Regions from separate parts of the Homo sapiens genome. Here region 1 is linked to region 2. Evidence: promoter capture Hi-C in 16 types of primary human blood cells and fetal thymus (Javierre and others, 2016). All regions are on one chromosome and are shown on one strand. The core of a region is centred on a gene start or on the middle of the fragment in contact, and the rest is flanking DNA. Distances in the headings are between cores, read along the strand shown.

The links. Contacts are between HindIII fragments. The CHiCAGO score rates a contact against its expected background, and 5 or more counts as called.
Region 1: a contact is called between a fragment that was not itself captured here and the fragment with the promoter of TOP2A in region 2, in 1 of 17 cell types (neutrophils). The highest score is 5.3, in neutrophils.

The regions. Positions count from the first base shown.
Region 1 is chr17:40,264,652-40,271,033 of GRCh38, reverse strand. WIPF2 (WAS/WASL interacting protein family member 2) reads right to left here. Exons shown (of 8, transcript NM_133264.5): 5 at 5,888-6,382. Among named protein-coding and RNA genes, the nearest start is that of CDC6, 20 kb to the left of the region's middle. The HindIII fragment of the contact is 3,897 bases long and covers 619-4,515 here.
Region 2 is chr17:40,414,391-40,420,802 of GRCh38, reverse strand. TOP2A (DNA topoisomerase II alpha) reads left to right here and starts at 2,907. Exons shown (of 35, transcript NM_001067.4): 1 at 2,907-3,032; 2 at 3,908-4,063; 3 at 4,291-4,381; 4 at 4,735-4,798. The coding sequence starts at 3,012. RefSeq lists enhancers at 701-1,243, 2,912-3,001, 2,723-3,248. The HindIII fragment of the contact is 7,280 bases long and covers 2,632-6,412 here.

The DNA.
Region 1 (6,382 bases), core at 1,318-3,817, 150 kb after region 2:
GCCACTGCACTCCAGCCTGGTGACACAGCAAGACTGTCTCAAAGAAAAGAGTATCTTATTATTCCTCCTGATTACTATCAGAATTGCTGTAGTGACTATAGTTAAGCATGTAACACAGTAATAGAATAACATACACACACACACACACACAATCTGGCACAATAAGCCCAATAAATGTTTTTGCTTCCCGTAAGACACACTCAGAATGTCAACTCTTCCTCACTGTTTCCAAGCTTTGTTCAGTAGAAACAGGGGACACTAGATGCAATAATTAAAGAGAAATCTTGTAACTCCCAGCAGATCTCTGAGCCTTGTTTTGATTCCAAATCTACTCAAACTAAAGCTCTTTAAGAATAGAAGCTTCTTTAAGCCCTCAAAAATATTCCCTAAAACCCAGATTCCTCAAGGCCCTGAGAATTTGTATCTACTCCTAGGCCAGGGCAGCAAGGTAAACAGGGTTAGCCAGGTTCACAAGGACACCGACACCAGCTAGACACCAGGCAGGTGACAGCGATGAGACGACCTGGAATGGCAAAATAGAGCAGGGTAAGAGTGATCTGTTTGGCTTCTCCAGCTCCCTCCCTCATCCCAGCCAGGTTCTGCTGTCTCCAATAAGCTTCTGGGCTCTTTGTCAGATCCAGTTATTTTTCTTTTTTTTTTTTTTTTTTGAGACGGAGTCTCGCTCTGTCCCCCAGGCTTGAGTACAGTGGCACGATCTCGGCTTACTGCAAGCTCCGCCTCCCGGGTTCATGCCACTCTCCTGCCTCAGCCTCCCCAGTAGCTGGGACTACAGGCACCCGCCACCACGCCCGGCTCATTTTTGTATTTTTAGTAGAGAGACAGGGTTTCACCGTGTTAGCCAGGATGGTCTCAATCTCCTGACCTCATGATCTGCCCGCCTCAGCCTCCCAAAGTGCTGGGATTACAGGCATGAGCCACCGCACCCGGCCCCAGATCCAGTTTTAAGACTGTTTCAAGTGACAGAGCCAGAACTCCAGTCCCTAAAAAACAATTTCCAAAAGAAGTCCTGGGATGGGAGACAGGCTTTTGTAATCCAAGATTAACCCTAATTTTGAGAAAAGTATGATGGTTTCTATTTTTCTCAAATTCCCTTAAAAATGGACAGTGTTGGCGGGTGCAGTGGCTCATGCCTATAATCCCAGCACTTTGGGAGGCCAAGGCAGGCGGATCACAAGGTCAGGAGATAGAGACCATCCTGGCTAACATGGTGAAACCCCATCTCTACTAAAGATACAAAAAAATTAGTCGGGTATGGTAGCGGGTGCCTGCAGTCCCAGCTACTCGGGAGGCTGAGGCAGGAGAATGGCGTGAACCTGGGAGGTGGAGCTTGCAGTGAGCCGAGATCGCGCCACTGCACTCCAGCCTGGGCGACAGAGCAAGACTCCATCTCAAAAAAAAAAAAAAAAAAAAAAGACAGTGTTTTACTCTGCAAAGAAAAAATTCTTGAAACAAACTCTATGAACCAATAATGCTAGTTTTTGGGTTTTGGGGGGGCGGGTTTTGAGGCAGGGTCTTGCTCTGCTGCCTAGGCTGGAGTGCAGTGGCGTGATCTCAGCTCTCTGCAGCCTCTGCCTCCTGGGCTCAAGTGATCCTCCCATCCTAGCCTCCCAAGTAGCTGGGACCACAGGCACACGCTACCACGCCTGGCTAGGTTTCTTAAATTTATTTTTATTTATTTATTTATTTATTTTTTGAGACAGAGTCTCGCTCAGTCACCCATGCTGGAGTGCAGTGGTGCAATCTTAGCTCACTGCAACCACAATCTCCCGGGTTCAAGCGATTCTCCCGTCTCAGCCTCTCGAGTAGCTGGGATTACAGGCACCCGCCATCATGCCTGGCTAATTTTTGTATTTTAGTAGAGAGATGGGGTTTCACCATGTTGGCCAGGCTGGTCTTGAACTCCTGACCTCAGGTGATCTGCCTGTCTCAGCCTCCCAAATTGCTAGGATTACAGGCGTGAGCCACTGCACCCGGCCTAGTTTTTTTATTTTTTGTAGTAATGGGGTTTCACCATGTTGCCCAGGCTGGTCTTGAACTCCGTCTCAAGCGATCCTCCTGCCTCAGCCTCCCAAAGCACTAGGATTACAAGTGTGAGCCTGTGTCCCTGACCCCCACTGTACTTTTCAAATGTACATTTTACAGGTGAGAAAAGAGAATCGGTGAGAAAAGAGAATCAGTGATCTGTCCAATGTCACACAACAAATCGAGGCAATACTCAAATGATCTCTGACTAAAATATCTCAATTTTTTTCTGGTTTATCACTCTTAAGAATTGCTGCTCTAGCCAGGTACAATTGCTCACATCTGTAATCCCAGGGCTTCGGGAGGCCAAGGTGGGAGGATGGCTTGAGCCCAAGAGTTTGAGTCCAGCCTGGGCAACACAGACCTCATCTTAAAAAATAAAAATAAAAAAAAATTTTAATGAGCCAGACATGGTGGCAACACTCCTGTAGTCCTAGCTACCACAGAGAAAGAATGGAAAAGTGGGAAGCAAGAAAGCCTGCAGACATTTAAAAGTGCTCAGCTCAACCCACGGAAATTGCATTTTTCTCTTCTTCTATTCCTGGATGAGGTCAGAAAGATATGAGCTTTGCTCAGACAAAGAGTCTTTTGTAAAATCCCTAAGTTAAAAAAAAAGTCAAACCTGAACTTTATAGAATCAAGGGCCACCTTAGCACTACCTCATTATGGCTAAAGCTAGGGAGATATGGGATCAGGAATGCAGTAGGCCACTGTTTGGCTGCCCTATGTTAGATGGCCAGCTGCTAGAGTACAAATCTGTATGTACTGAACAAAGAAGCTGCACACAGGTTAATGGACTTTTAATGCCTTGCTACTTAATGATATAACCTTTACCCTTTTTTTGGGACAACGTCTTGCTGTGTTGCCCAGGCTGAAGTGCAGTGGCACTAATACAGCTCACTGCAGCCTCCACCTCCCAGGCTCAAGTGGTCTTCCCACCTCAGCCACTCAAGTAGCTGGGACTACAGGCATGCACCGCCATGCCAGGCTAATTTTTTAAAATTATTTTTTGTAGAGACAGGGTTTTGCCATGTTGCCCAGGCTGGTCTCGAACTCCTGGGCTTAAATGATCTGCTGGCCTCAACCTTCCAAAGTGCTGGGATTAAGGCGTGAGCCATCATGCCCAGACTCCATGACATAACTCCTTAATCAATGTTCTATACCTGTAGAAACTGACTTTAAAATAAAAGCTAAGGGCTGGGCGCAGTGGCTCACTTGAGGTCAGGAGTTTGAGACCAGCCTGGCCAACACGGCGAAAACCCGTTTCTACTAAAAATACAAAAATTAGCCAGATATGGTGGCACATGCCTGTAATTCCAGCTAGTCAGGAGGCTGAGACACAACAATCACTTGAACCTGGGAGGAAGAGGTTGCAATGAGCAGAGATTGCACCACTGCACTCCAGCCTGGGCGAAAGAGCAAGGCTCTGTCTCAAAACACAAACAAACAAATAAATAAATAAAGGCCAAGAAGCTGTTTGTGGAGGGTATGTCTCAAAGTCTAATGATACAACGATATGGGAGCCAAAATTCCCATGTCCAATAAGGCCCCAGAGAGCTGTCACGGTCTCCCTCACTCTAAAATTTCAGTTATGCTAATTATAACGAGATTACACAACCTCTTCTTTTTCCAGGGTTCCTAAATTCCCTCCTCACCCAGCTTAGGCTCCATTATTGCAATCACTCCCTCACATACACCCTTCCCTTCCTGCCCCACTCTCCCTTAGAGTCGCACATGCCTAAAACATGCTAACGCTGGTTAAACACAGCTCTACTCTTTTTCTGTACCTGCAAATCACAACTGAACACATGAGACTAATTAATCTCACATGAAATGTATGGCCCATAATCTCAAGTGGGCCCTTCGCGTGGTTGCCTATCTGAGCACACTTCCCTAGTCCACCCACACTCCCACGCTCCAGATGACCATTTCATGCCTCTTCTCTCTCCTCAACTCTCCTTCTCCTTCCCTCGCCTCAATCACAGCTGATGCTCTTGCTTTCCATTTCACTGAGAAAACAGAAGCAAATTAGAATAAACTTTCCACATGCTTCTACCACTACACCCACCTACCCACTTGCTTCTAAGCCTATATGCTCTGCCTCCCCTCTTGTTACTATGGAAGAACTATGTTCCTATCTAAGGCCAACCCTTTTTATCTATCGATCACATTCTCTTTTCTCTGGCCTCCTCCAGGTCATTATTCAGGCAATCTGTTCCCTCTCTTCTGATTCAATTTTTTCCCTCTCTCCTAAGTTTCATGCTACTCATTCCATCAGCATACAAATAGGTCTCCCATCTTGGGATGGGAAAAAAACAACTCTCAACCCCACATCTTCGTCCAACAATCACTTCACTTATCTTCACCCCTCTCTCCTGGACTTTACAGCGAACTCTTTAAGAGATTTCTATATTGCTATCTCCAATTTCTCTCCTCCTATTCCTGCATTCTTGAACCCACTCCAATTAAGCTTTCACTTTCACCCTCCACCACTCCACTGAAACTACTCAAAAGGGTCCCATGATACTAAGACCAATGCCAGTTCTTGGTCTTTAACTTACCTGACCCATCTGCAGCACTGGGCACAGCTGACCACTTACTCTACCTTGGAGTTTTTCCATCACATTCTTGGTTTTTCTCCTTCCATCCTCACTAGAAGCTTTTCTGTTTCCTCTGCTGGGTATTCTTCATCTCTTTTGCCTCTAATGTAGGAGGGCGAGGGCTCAGCCCTCATTTTTTTTTTTTTTTTTTTTGAGATGGACTGTCACTCTGTCGCCCAGGCTGGAGTGCAGTGGCGTGATCTCGGCTCACTGCAACCTCTGCCTCCTGAGTTCAAGCGATTCTCCTGCCTCAGCCTCCTAGGCCTCTTCTTATCTATATTCACTCCTTAGGTGACTTCATCCAGCATGTGGTTTTCAACACCATTCAAATGTATCTCTCTAGCCGAAACCTCTCCCCTCAACTTTGGAGTCTGATAGCCAATTACCAATTCATTGTCTCTTCTTGATTACCTAACAGGCATCTCAAACTTGTCTCAAACTGAACACCTATCTTCCCACAAATTCACAGTAGTCCTAACCATCTGGCCGTTTACTGCAACAGCCCAGTAACTGGTCTCCTTTTGTCACCTTTGTCCTCCTGCGGTCTGTTCTCAACATAGGAGTTAATGATCTTTTTAAAAGGTGAATCAAATCATACTACTTCTCTGTTTAAAACCCTCCAGTGGCTTCCCATCTCACACAGTTAAATCCAAGGTCTTTGCAAAATCCTGCAGTGCGCTCTCCCCTGCAGCTCCAGCTTTCCAACCTCCAAGTCCTACCACTCTTCCCTCCCCTCACTCTTTGTAGTCTTGCCACAATGGCCCCCTTGCTGTCCCCAAAATGTTTCAAGAATACTTCTGCCTTATGGCCTCTGCATTTGTTGTTCCCACTGCCTGCAACAGCTGTTCTCCTAGATAACTACTAAGCTTACTCGTCACTTTCTTAAGGTCTTTGTCAAATTTTCACCGTATCAGTAAGGACTGTCCTGACTCTCTCCCCACTCCTCCAATTAAAGATATCATCATCCCGACCTCCGCCCCAGTATATCTTATTCCTCTCCTCTGCTTTGTAATTCTCTAAAGCATACTGCATACTATGTATTTATATATTTTACTAGTTTGACTGTCAAATTTTTTTGTCTTTTCTATTTATTGCTATTTCCCTACCAACAGACCTGACACATAAAAAGGTACTCAATAAACCCACTGAGTGAATAAACGAATTACTGTCTTCAAGGAGTGCTCTGGGGAAAGATAAAATCAACTCACAGCATGATAGGGAAAAAGGTGCTTCCAAGCACTTACCTGCTCCCCGACTGGGAGGGTCTCGGGCTGGGGGAGGTGGCCTATTACTCAGTAAAGATGGGGAGGCCGAGGTGGGTGGAGGAGGTGCTAGGCCTCTGACAGGCCCTGGTGTCTTCCTATGCAAAGAATTGTGTCTCTGTGGCAGCTCAGGGGCTGACTCATTAGTGGGGCTAGAGGGTCCATTGGGGACCCCAGGAGGCTGGCGGTAAGGCGGAGGAGGAGGAGCCAGAGACTGGCCACTTGGTCCTGTTCTGATATTCACAGGGGAAGGAGGTGGTTTGACTGGGGGTGGAGCAGGAGGTCCCTCTCGACCAGGGTGAAGCCTTTGTCCAGGCGTCGGTGGCAAGGGTTTCTCTCTGTTGTAGGCGGGGGCTTTGCTGCTGTGCATAGGCAGAGGTGTGGGGGGTGCGTTGGCACGCCGCCCTGGGGGTGGTGGGGGAGGGGCAGAGGAGCTGTGCTTCATGCCCGTACTGCTGGTGGTATTAGGCCGAGAGA
Region 2 (6,412 bases), core at 1,658-4,157:
TTGTTGTTTGTTTTTTTGAGACGGGGTCTTGCTCTGTCGCCCAGGCTGGAGTGCAATGGCACGATCTCGGCTCACTGCAACCTCCGCCTCCTGGATTCAAGCTATTCTCCCACCTCAGCCTCCCGAGCAGCTGGGATTACAGGCACCCGCCATCAGGCATGGCTAATTTTTTTTTTTGTATTTTTGTAGAGATGGGGTTTCACCAAGTTGTCCAGGCTGGTCTCAAACCCCTGAACTCAGGTGATCCACCCACCTCAGCCTCCCAAAGTGCTGGGATTACAGGCGTGAGCCACCACACCCGGTCCCCAAAGTCCTTTTGACTCCACAGTACTTCTTCTGGGTTTTTGGAACAAAGACACACAGGATCCAGCTAAACTGCAGGACAGATTTAAAGCTGGGCCCCTAAAAAATAGGGCTGGAGCTGCTTGTTAAATTCCTGTTGCCTCATTGCCCAGTGGGTCACTGCAGGCTGGGATGAGCTACAGGGTAGAGGCCGGGAGCTGCAGAAACTGAGCTGCCATCCTTGGGGAAGCATGCCCACCATCCCCACTACCTTGGAGGTAGTGCGTTCTAGGAGGTAGAAGCCAGCATGGCTGGTTTCTGTCAGGGCCCTCGGGTGTCCTGCAGAGAGTGGCATGCAGGCCCTGGATCCCAGGGCCTGGTCAGTCTTCTGGCTGAGCAGAGGCTACTGGCCAAGCTTCCCTACCACTGCTCTGAGCCCCTGGTGGTCCTGTGCTCTCTAACACATGTGGTGAGCAGAGCAGAGCTGGGAACACGCAGAGACTGCTGGAGGCCAGGGAGCCAAAGGTCAAGAGAGCAGAACAATGCCGAAGCACCATGCCTATGGTTTCCGAGTGCCCCTAGCCCATGGGCAACTTCCATCCTTGGCTTCCTGCCACATCATACGGCTCCCCATTGGCCCTCCCTTGACACACTGTGGTTATGTAACAATGGTTGACCTCTGGTTTCTTTTAGAAGAAGAAAAAAAAAATTACATCCACAATTGTCACACCAGCCTAAGGAAAATTCCTGCTACCTAATACTGTCAGCCCACTGTTTACCTTACACTTCTCTCATGTAACCCTCACACTACTCTGAGATCATAGTTAATTATTCTTTTTAGGAGAGGAAACGGAAGCACCGAGAGGCTTCCTCCATCGAAATGACACGAATGGCAAATTGCTGAGTTGGGACTGAAACCCAGGTAGAGGAAGGAAGCAATGAATGGAAAGAGGTGGCTCAGCTGGAATTAGTAGGCACTCAAATTGTGCAGTTTTTTTTTTTCTGGCTTCTTGTAAGGGTAATAACTTTGTTTAATCCACTCAAACATTTATATGTAAGAGTAATTTTAAAACTTCAGTCTTCGCCGGGCACAGTGACTCACACCTGTAATCCCAGCACTTTGAGAGGCTGAGGCGGGCAGATCACTTGAGGTCAGAAGTTTGAAACCAACCTGGTCAACATGGCAAAACCCTGTCTCTACTAAAAAAATACAAAAATTAGCCAGGCGTGGTGGCAGGCGCCTGTAATTCTAGCTACACGGGAGGCTGAGGCAGGAGAATCGCTTGAACCCGCGAGGTGAAGGTTGCAGTGAGCCTAGATCGCGCCATTGCACTCCAGCCTGGGCGACAGAGTGAGATTCCATCTCAAAAAAAAAAAAAGCAACAAAAAAACAAGCAAACAAAAAAGCTTCAGTCTTGGCATTTCCTTGTCAAATTGGAACAGCTGTTCTGGACTGCAGGGTTCACGGAGGTGAGCAAAAGTAGCCAGTCGGAGGGTATCTGGCCAGCTGGCTGCGGAAAAGGTTTCAGCCCCGGACGGCTGAGCCCACCCTCAGCTCAAGAGGCTACCACCACAAGTTATCCCTTTCGATTTACCAGTTGCAGTCCAGCGCTGCTCTACTGGGGACCTGAATGCTGCCCTCCATTTTGCAAAGCCTTTCTACATCCTTCCACTATATGGAACCCCCAAACCACAACTGTGGCACTTTTATTTTAATTATTTTTATTATTTATTTATTTATGTATTTATCTCTTGAGGTGGCCTCGCTCTGTCACTCAGGCTGGAGTGCAGTGGAGCAATCACGGTTCAAGGCGCCTCGATCTCCGATCCCCGGGGCTCAAGCGATCCTCCCTCCTCAGCCTCCGGAGCTGGAGTTACAGGTGTGCGATGCCTCGCCTGGCTATTTTTTTTCCTTTTTGGGTAGAGACGGGGTCTCGCTATGTTGCCCAGGCTGGTCTCCAACTCCTAGGCTCCAGCGATCCTCCCGCCTCGGCCTCCCAATGTGCTGCGAATACAGACTCCAGCCACCGCACACAGCCTACTTTTATTTCTTTGAAAAATGAATTCGAGGGTAAAGGGGGCGGGGTTGAGGCAGATGCCAGAATCTGTTCGCTTCAACCAAGCAGCCAGGCTGCCTGTCCAGAAAGCCGGCACTCAGTTTCCTCAGGAAAACGAAGCTAAGGCTCCCATTCCCCTCGCTAACAACGTCAGAACAGAGGACAGTTTTTAGATTTCAGGGATCTTAAATAGATTGGCAGTTCCTGGAGAATAAACATCCTTTGCTTTTCTCCTGCACACTTTTGCCTCAGGCCACCCCTTCCCGCTTCCAAAGCCCATCTCTTCCAAGCTTTCCGCACGAGAAAACAAGTGAGCCCTTCTCATTGGCCAGATTCCCTGTCAATCTCTCCGCTATGACGCCGAGTGGTGCCTTTTGAAGCCTCTCTAGTCCCGCCTCCCTAACCTGATTGGTTTATTCAAACAAACCCCGGCCAACTCAGCCGTTCATAGGTGGATATAAAAGGCAAGCTACGATTGGTTCTTCTGGACGGAGACGGTGAGAGCGAGTCAGGGATTGGCTGGTCTGCTTCGGGCGGGCTAAAGGAAGGTTCAAGTGGAGCTCTCCTAACCGACGCGCGTCTGTGGAGAAGCGGCTTGGTCGGGGGTGGTCTCGTGGGGTCCTGCCTGTTTAGTCGCTTTCAGGGTTCTTGAGCCCCTTCACGACCGTCACCATGGAAGTGTCACCATTGCAGGTACGGCTCGCGGGGGGGACTGGCGGTGGAGCCTCCGCGCGGCCCGGGCATCTCTCTGGCCGCCCGTGACGGGTGAAGCTCTGGGGCTGCGGTCAGGCCGGCGACCGGCTTGGGAGCCCATATTCTCCATTCCCGGTTCCGGGGTGATCGTGGAGAGGCGGAAGCCCCTTCTGGTGCTAGTAGTGAAGTATGACCCGGCTTCCAGGGTGTCGTGCGTTGTTGCCCTGTTTCTAGGGGCAGGAGTCCGTTGGTCCCGTAGTGGATCCATGTTACAGCGGCCCGGGTGCGACGTTATTGAGTCGCGCGTACAGATGCTTTCCCCTCCTGCCCGCTGCTTGAAAACGGTCTTGAATGTCCCCGATCTTGGAAAGGGCAGAGCCTAGCACAGTGTTTCTCTGGAGCAGCTGGCCAGCTTACAAAAGCGCCCCCTTCCTGAGTTCACAACGCTCAGGTGGCCAAGGGATTGAACGGATAGCCGCCCAAACTGCTGCTGCCGAACTAGAATTATTTACGGTGTCGTGTGCTCGGGACACCGTAAATAATTTATAATAATAGGCACTCGGTAAATAATGTATGCAGGAACTGAAAGAAGTGGGTGTATTTTATTGATGACATCTACCATGTTGCTCAAGAAAAGAGGTTTCCAGACAGACCCACTTGGTGAGATAATATGTGTCTGTTTAACCTGACACCTGGGGACCTGGCCGCAGCGAATTTAAATTGTCCTATTTGTACAAAACTGGCAACTCCACCACTGCCTACTAACAGATTGCAATGCATGTTGACATCTCACTATGGTAGGCATTTTGTTCCTAGTTTAGGGTAAACTTATGATTAAAAATTCCCTTCTTTCTCTCTTTTTTTTTAATTGCTAGCCTGTAAATGAAAATATGCAAGTCAACAAAATAAAGAAAAATGAAGATGCTAAGAAAAGACTGTCTGTTGAAAGAATCTATCAAAAGAAAACACAATTGGAACATATTTTGCTCCGCCCAGACACCTACATTGGTTCTGTGGAATTAGTGACCCAGGTAAAATCAAGCTCATCAAAGGCAGTTAACCTAGTAGTTGAAATGGATACTCTTCTTTCTGTACCTTTCATGTACTGAGTGTGACCTTTCTGTATCTCTCATGTACTGAGTGTCACTGGAACTGGCCTAAATATGGTAATACTTAATATGAACACTTTATGGTAATCATGATAACAGAACAATGAATATAGAATAAAAATAACAGTATTTCTTTGCCTTATTTCTAGCAAATGTGGGTTTACGATGAAGATGTTGGCATTAACTATAGGGAAGTCACTTTTGTTCCTGGTTTGTACAAAATCTTTGATGAGATTCTAGGTGAGTAAATCCTTTAATATAAAGATCTGGTCAAATCTTTCATAAGAAGTATCATTCCAAATAAAAATTTAAAAAAGATAAAAGTAAAAACAAAAAGTATCATTTCTACCAAACCTGCTGTAGCCAGGGCTCCTGTCATTTCAATCAGTTGATAAAGGTGAGCTGGTTTCCTGGAGCCCAGGAGGTTGAGCTTCTCGTAGAAACAGTACTATGGACAAAAATTGCTAAATTAACACCTTGTTAATGCCACTCCTGTGCTGTTTGGGAACTTTTTTTTCTATATCTTACTTAGAGTTACAGAATGTTTCTTAAAACACTAATTTCTTACAAATGTATATTTTATTTTCTTTCAGTTAATGCTGCGGACAACAAACAAAGGGACCCAAAAATGTCTTGTATTAGAGTCACAATTGATCCGTACGTCTTTTGCTTAGTTTTTGTTATGTAGCTCGTTGCTATTGTTAGCTGCATGTATTTTGATTACTGGTGAAGTTGGCTTTTCCTAAACAGAAGTTGAGAAAAGTACACAAAAGCAGAATGCTAAAATGAAAAACCTATGGATACCCACCACCTAGATCCAACAGTTGCCAACGTTTTTCCATATTTTCTCCATCTTTTTTTTAATTAGTTAATTTTTTTAGAGGAAGGGGTCTTGCTATTTTGCCTGGGCTGGTCTTAGAACTCCTGGCCTGAAGCAATCCTCCAGTGTTGGCATTATGGGTGTGTGCCATGGCACGCGGCCTATTTGCTCTGGATCATTTCAAAATAAATTACAGGACTTATGACACCTAATCCCTAAATATTTGAGCAAGCACCTTCAGTAATTGCTTTAAGTATTCTGGCATCTGGAGTTTTAACTTTTTCTCATGATGCTATTCAAACAGTAAACCAGTAGGTGGTGGTAGAGAATAATTTGATCTGACATTTCTGCTTATAAATGCGGGGTGTCCCTTAGTGGGTGATCAGGGTGCTTATTTCACTTTTTTGTTAGTCTGATTGATTATGACAAAGTATACCTGGATTTTCCTAAGGACTCAATATCATAGTCTTTAAAAAATGTTGAGCTAGGGCCAGGCACGGTGGCTCATGCCTGTGATCCCAGCACTTTGGGAGGCCGATGCGGGCGGATCACAAGGTCAGGAGATCAAGACCATCCTGGCTAACACGGTGAAACCCTGTCTCCACTAAAAATACAAAAAATTAGCCGGGTGTAGTGGTGGGCGCCTGTAGTCCCAGCTACTCGAGAGGCTGAGGCAGGAGAATGGCATGAACCCGGGAGGTGGAGCTTGCAGTGAGCCGAGATTGCACCACTGCACTCCAGCCTGGGTGACACAGCAAGACTCTGTCTCAAAAAAAAAAAAAAAGTTGAGCTAATTTTAATTAGTTTTTTTTATAGATAATAAGTACTATGTAGAACAAGAACCATAATGTATATCGAGTTATTAACTAAAATATAGTACCATCCAAGAATTAACTTAAAATAACTGAAATAAGTTTTCAGCATTTTATTTGAGAGCAAGGCAGTTTATGATTGATATTGGTTTTCCTTTTTTTTTTTTTTTTTTTTGATGGAGTTTTGCTCTTATTGCCCAGTCTGGAGTGCAGTGGCATGATCTCGGCTCACCGCAACATCCACCTCCTGGGTTCAAGCAATTCTCCTGCCTCAGCCTCCAGAGTAGCTGGGATTACAGGCGCACACCACCACACCTGGCTAATTTTGTATTTTTTTTAGTAGAGATGGGGTTTCTGCATGTTGGTCAGGCTGGTCTCGAACTCCTGACCTCAAGTGATCTGCCTGCCTTAGCCTCCCAAAGTGCTGGGATTGCTGGGATTACAGGCGTGAGCCACTGCGCCCAGCCTGTTTTTATGTACTTTGTTGAGTGGGAACGAGATGTATAGATGATCCTCTTGAAAGGGGTATAATAGGCATGATGACTCACTCCTGTAATCCCAGCACTTTGGGAGGCCAAGGTGGGAGGATCAGTTGAGCCCAGGAGTAGTTTGAGACCAGCCTGGGCCATATAGTGAGAC